Linked DNA regions of Homo sapiens: region 2 is linked to region 1. Evidence: promoter capture Hi-C in human tissues and cell types (Jung and others, 2019). All regions are on one chromosome and are shown on one strand. Each heading gives the region's core, a stretch centred on a gene start or on the middle of the fragment in contact. The rest is flanking DNA. Distances are from core to core; before and after follow the strand shown.

Region 1 (2,854 bases), core at 64-2,563:
AGTTTCAGATATGTCTACACAGGGACACTGGCCTCCTCAGTCCAGCTCCTTGAGGCTACTGCTTCTTGCCATAAATTTCTAGGACTGTTCATTGCCTTCTGAGGTCCTTTGAGCTGATGCTGATCTGAAAGCATTTTTTTGGATATGGTCCCATACCCAGGTGATGGGGATAGGATACCGATTTGCCTGCAGGATAAGAATTAGAGGTCATACAGACTGCTGAGACAGTTACAACCTAGAGGTCAAGGGCCTGACATGGGAGACAGGCCAGTTTTGATTTAAGCCCTTACTGCAAGGCTTGGGTGAATTGCCTTTCCATCTAGAAACCTCAGTTTCCTCATTTGTATGATAGTAATAATAACAGCACACATCTCAAGACTGGTGGGGGAATTTCATGGCATGAGTGAAGTCCATGTTTCTCAGCAGAAGTCTAGAGACATTGACAATTGTTATCATTATGCTATTTCTGATACAGTAGGATCCCTGACTACAGCTCCAAGCTCATCCCTATTTCCCCCCCTACTTCACTGGATTTTATCCATGTTGGCCTTGGATTCAACTCGGGGGCAGATCAGCCCTTTTCCTACCTCAGGGCCTTTACACCTGCTGTTCCCCCTGGTATGACTGCTTTTTCCCCAGCTTATTCAAAAAAGCTGGCGCTTTCTCACCCTTTTATATCTCAGTTCGTGTCACTGCTCAGTGAGGCCTTCCTTGACCACTCCAGCCTGCCTGCAATACATCCTCCTGTTTTATCGTATTCATATGTGTTACCAGTACCTGATATTACTAGCTGATTTGTTTCTTTTATCTCTCACATAATGTAAGTTTCAAGTAGACAGAGATTTTTATCGTTTTTTTTCTCTGTAGCATGCCCAGCGCCAACAACTGTGTCTGGCATTCAATAAATAAATGGTGAATTGAATGAATGAATGAATGAATGAATGAGGGTGTATACCAGGCCGAACCCCCAAGCCTTGCAGTCCCCACTCTTCTGCTGCAGTGGGCAACGAGATGAGTCAGACTTTGTAGATGGCCCCTTGGCCCCCGAGATGGGGGACGAGCTAGCGCGGAGCACTTGGGAGACATTCCCCGAAAGCCTGGGCGGTGGCCGCACTGGGAGAGGGTCTGTCGCCATTTGGCGATTACTCCATGCGGGCTGCTGTGGGCGCCGAGCGAGGGTCGGCGGCGAGCGCAAGCGCGCGGGTCTTTTGCGACGGTGCCCGGCGGCACTGGCCCCGCCTCCCGCGCGTGCGCCCCGCCTCCGCCCCCGCCGCTGCGCCCGCTCGGGGCCGCTCTGGCCCCCGCCCGCTTCATGTGGCCCGGCCCGCGACGGCCGGCGGCTGGGAGCGGCGAGGCGGCGGCGGCGGCGAGTGGCGGCCCGCGAGGCCCGGGAGGCGGTGGCCGAGGCCCAGGCGGTGGCGGCGGCGGCCCAGGAGGCGGCGGACGGGGAGCTGCGGGAGCAGGCCCGGCCTGGCTCTCTAGCGGCCGCCTGGCTGCAGCATGCGCGCCCGCCGGGGGCTGCTGCGGCTGCCGCGCCGCTCGCTGCTCGCCGCGCTCTTCTTCTTTTCTCTCTCGTCCTCGCTGCTGTACTTCGTCTATGTGGCGCCCGGCATAGGTAGGAAGGGGGCTTGGGACCGCGGCGGCTGCCGCTCTGGCCTTGAGGGACCCGGGGAATCCCCGCCCCTCCCTAAGGGGCCCCGGCCGGGAGGCGGCCCTGAGCCTGGTCCTCCGAAGACTCCGGAGTCCTGGCCCGGCTCTCGGGGACGCCAGGACATTCCTGCCCTCCGCACCCCAACAGGCGCCCGGGATCCCTCTCCCGCGCCAGCCTCCGGCCCACCCCGCCCCTCCTAACGCCACCCTCGCGAACCCGACTGTACCTTCACGCCCGCCCCTTGCTCCGGAACCCCCTTCCCGCTCTTGCCTCGCTGGAACTCCCACTTCCCGCTCCTCTGCTCGAGAACTCCCGCTTCCCCTTCCCTTCCCCGGGGTCTCCTCGAACCCCCATTCCCGGCATTCCCCGCACCCCAGTCCCCCGCGGCGCGCCCGCTCTTCGCCGAGCCCATGTGCCCGGGTCCCAGGCCGCCCCACCTTCTAGCTCCCATCCATCCTCCCCCACTCCCCATGACTCCATCGTTTCCTGCTCCCGTGAGCCCCCTCCCTCCCCTTTCTTCCTCTACTTCCCCTATTACATCCACCTCCAGGTCCTCCTCCCTAACTCACGTTCACCTCTTCAGTGGCCTGATCTCTCTGCCTGCCGGTGGCACCCCCCTTCCCCTTACAGAGGTCCACCCCCATTCAATCTCCTGCTAATCCCCTGAGCGTCCCATGCCTCTTCCCCATCTCCCCCCCCCCCACCTCGCGTACCCACAAGGGCACATCCTTGTCACCTTTGCCCCCAGCCCCCCAGACTTTCAGCCACAGCTTCTTTCTCAACTGAAGACCTGGGGAAGGGGTGCTGTCTGTGTTCTTTCTTCCACTTCTGCCCTCTCCTAGCCTTGAGGGTAGATGGTGTGGTTCTTCAGTATTGGATAGTGCCTGCTCTGCGGACAAAGGAGAAGTTTAAATTGTCCGTAGAGAAGGGGATATGATTGGGGCCTTTGGGAAATGGTACCAGGTGAGAAGGGGGAGCATGGAGGAAAGATGTAATGGGTACTCCTTCTTTTCAAAGTCTTATCCTTTAAAGGAAAGGCGGTCTCTGGAGAAACTGACCCTCCCACCCCTCCCCCGCCTGCCCCAAGCATAGTCTTTTATAAGACCACAGGGCACCAGTTAGGACAGGAAGAGATCAGAAGGAAAGACAGCATGAAGGTTAAGAGCGGAGGACACAGAGGTCAGACTTGGATTCCAATCTCTG
Region 2 (3,091 bases), core at 248-2,747, 43 kb after region 1:
TGCGGAGGTCGAGGCCAAGCCACCCACCTTGGCTTCTCAAAGGGCTTGGATTATAGGTGTGAGCCACCTTGCCTGACTCCTTACAAGTTTCCATCAATCATGCTCTTCCAACGTGCCTTTGTAGAGTAGGTTGGCCCTTCTGTTTCTGTGGACTTGGGTCTTGAATTGCTTTAAAATGTGAACATTACTTAGCTAAAGAAAGAAAAGTTTATGTCTGATCAAGTGACAGAGTCTGTCTGTCATAATAGATGACAGAAAAATAATCCAGCATTCTGCATGGCCCAGAGAACCCGTTTCTAGGACTACAAGTTGATATATGCAAAAGACAAGCCATCTGGAGGAGAGGAAGGGTTTCATTACCCACAAGGTGTTAAGGAAAGACTTTGTTTTGCTAAGTGTGTGTGCCTTAGAAGCTAGAAATTTTCAAGTGCTTTCTCTGGCATCTTTTGCCTTTTTATGGAAAGCATGGCTCTGATTTCCTATGTTTGACAGTTTGGGTGTTAATACCAGTTGGAATGCTGCCTTCTTGGAAGCACTTAAATTCCCAACGAGTAGATAACCCATTAGTCTGTTACAAGCTTCCAGGCTAACAATAATGTGATTAAAATATATTATCCCCATAGGACATGAAGAATAATCTTTCCAAAAGAGAATCAGGAGGGAGACCAAAGAACAGTATGTGGAAGAATATGTTTGGATGGTAGGCTAGATAGAGGAAACTTGCTTGATGAAGTTAAAGCTAGAAGCACCAAGAGCTTTAGGATCATTATGAATCATTTGGGGTAGGATAATTTGGGGGTAGAATAACAGTTTGAGATTAGGGGAATTATTAGGGTCTGGAGCAATGAAGAGGGGAGGAATCTCTTACTAAGGCAGAAGGTTGTGTTTTTGTGCTTCCCCCGACCCCATACAAAAATTTATTGATTATTGTTTTAAAAAAAAATGAAAAGAAAAAGACCCTGCCCAAAGGCAGCATTCCTAAAGGGTGCTCATAAAGTAGATGCTGTGTGAAAAGGGGTTCTCAGTAACTTTGGAAACTTTGAAATTTTGGGTCAGTTGATTTAAACAGATTTGGTTACTGCAGTTTTTCACTAGTGGAACAGAGAACCTCCTTATCTTACAGGGTTCTGATGTTCATGGAAATGTTGCATTGTAACAAAGAAAAGACAACCCAGATGACCTGTAATTCTGCCACACAGAGATAAAAAACACTGAACATCTTGATAAGTGATTTCTAAAACTGTTCTAGGCTTATATTTTCCTTTGTGTCTTTAACACAAATGTGATATACTGTATGTAGTATATATACAATGTATATACCGTCTTGAATCAATAGCTTCATCTCTGCTTTTATTACTGCTCCTAGCGTAAATTATTTAGCACAAATGCAGACATAATCTCAGAAAATTATTATTTTTTGAGACAGAGTCTCACTCTGTCACTCAGGCTGGAGTGTAGTGGCATGATTTCAACTCACCACAACCTCTGCTTCCCAAGTTCAAGTGATCCACCTCAGCCTCCTGAGTAGCTGGGGTTACAGGCATGCACCACCACACCCGGTTAATTTTTGTATTTTTTGTAGAGATGGGGTTTCGCCATGTTGACCAGGCTGATCTTGAACTCCTGACCTCAGGTGATCCGCCCACCTTGGCCTCCCAAAGTGCTGGGATTATAGGCATGAGCCACCGTGCCTGGCCTGCACGGTATGATTTTTAAATAGTGAGTACTTCTAAAACAATAATCATTATTTCAGTGATAGCTGAGTTAGTCATGGTCTGATTTTGCCATAATTTTTTTTCCAGACCCTTTTGGTGCATAGATAGGTTGGAGTTTTGCTTTTATAAGTAGCACTGAGATAAACAGTATTGAACACATTTGTTATTTATCCAATTATTTCTTTAGGATGAATACCTGAAAGTAGGAACTACTGGGTTAGAGTATGAACATTTCACTTTGATCTGTATTGCCAACCTCTCTAGAGGTTATATCAATTTGTTTCCATCAACAAGGTGTGGGATACCTGTTCCACCAAAGCCTCTGAATGTTGGTGAGGCTTTGGTAGAACAGGTATCAGTCTTTTGACTCATTTAGACAAGCAGTTTGTAGTGTCAACTTAAAATTTTACGTTACATGTTTGCAAAGGGTTAGAAGAAACTTAGTTGTAGGCAGATAGCAGTTCAGTGTTGAAGAAATTCAACTTTTTGCTATAGAATTGCATTCTTTTAAACCCTCACTCAGTCAGACACCATGATGCATGCCTGTAGTCCCAGCTGCTTGGGAGCTAAGGCATGAAGATCTCTTGAGCTCAGGAATTTGAGACCAGCCTGGGCAACATAGTAAGACCCTGTCTCAAAAAAATAAATCATTACTGTTGTAAAGAACATTGGTAAAACAGAAGGAAAAAAGGTCATCTCACATCACTGTTACTCCCTAACAGCAAAGCAGGTTGGTAAATTTGCCTCAAGTCTGTTTTAGCCTGATACATGTTCTTATTCCTTAGCAATAGTTGTCAAGATATAGCAGAACTTTTTTCATGTTGTTAAAAATGTGATAGTCTATGCTAAATATTATACATAAGGTGTATGGTGATAAGGTTGCATAGTTTTCACTTTTAAAGATGTGTAAGATTCCGTCAAGTTTTGTGTCACAGTTTATGTGCTGTTGTTTTAGTAAGTGAAAGCAAGTTTATTAGAGAAGAAAAGAAACTGGCTACTCCACAGGCAGAGCAGCACTGAGAGCTGCTGGTTGTTGATTTTGAGTTGTTTCCCAAGATTTTGCTTTTAGAAATAATGTAAGTAAAAACTTTGTGCATAGAATAGCCTCATATTTAGGATACTTTGCTAGCTCAGAAGGTATGAGCATTTTTATGGCTATTGTTGAATTTGCAAATAGTTTTCCCAAAGGGTTTATACCAGTCTGCACGAACACCAGCACAGTTGGTGAAGTATCAGTTTCACTATGACCTTTTCTGGCTTATAGCCTTTTTTTTTGTGGTTGCAGAAAAACCAGTATACTTCTACCTTAAAAAAGCAAGGCAACTCCTCCGGCTATCACAGCATCTGTGTGCCAAGCTATAATTCTTTTTTTTTTT

Evidence for each region. The method cuts DNA at HindIII sites, captures the fragments that hold promoters and counts their contacts. A contact is called where the count stands out against the background at its distance.
Region 2: a contact is called between a fragment that was not itself captured here and the fragment with the promoter of B4GALT5 in region 1, in 2 of the 25 tissues and cell types used here (bladder and liver).

Annotation. Positions count from the first base shown.
Region 1 is chr20:49,712,337-49,715,190 of GRCh38, reverse strand. It overlaps B4GALT5 (beta-1,4-galactosyltransferase 5), which reads left to right and starts at 1,313. Exons shown (of 9, transcript NM_004776.4): 1 at 1,313-1,615. The coding sequence starts at 1,501. RefSeq lists silencers at 1,101-1,430, 1,721-1,840. The HindIII fragment of the contact is 30,885 bases long and covers 1-2,854 here.
Region 2 is chr20:49,669,703-49,672,793 of GRCh38, reverse strand. All of the region lies in intron 1 of B4GALT5 (beta-1,4-galactosyltransferase 5), which reads left to right. Among named protein-coding and RNA genes, the nearest start is that of B4GALT5, 43 kb to the left of the region's middle. The HindIII fragment of the contact is 5,680 bases long and covers 1-3,091 here.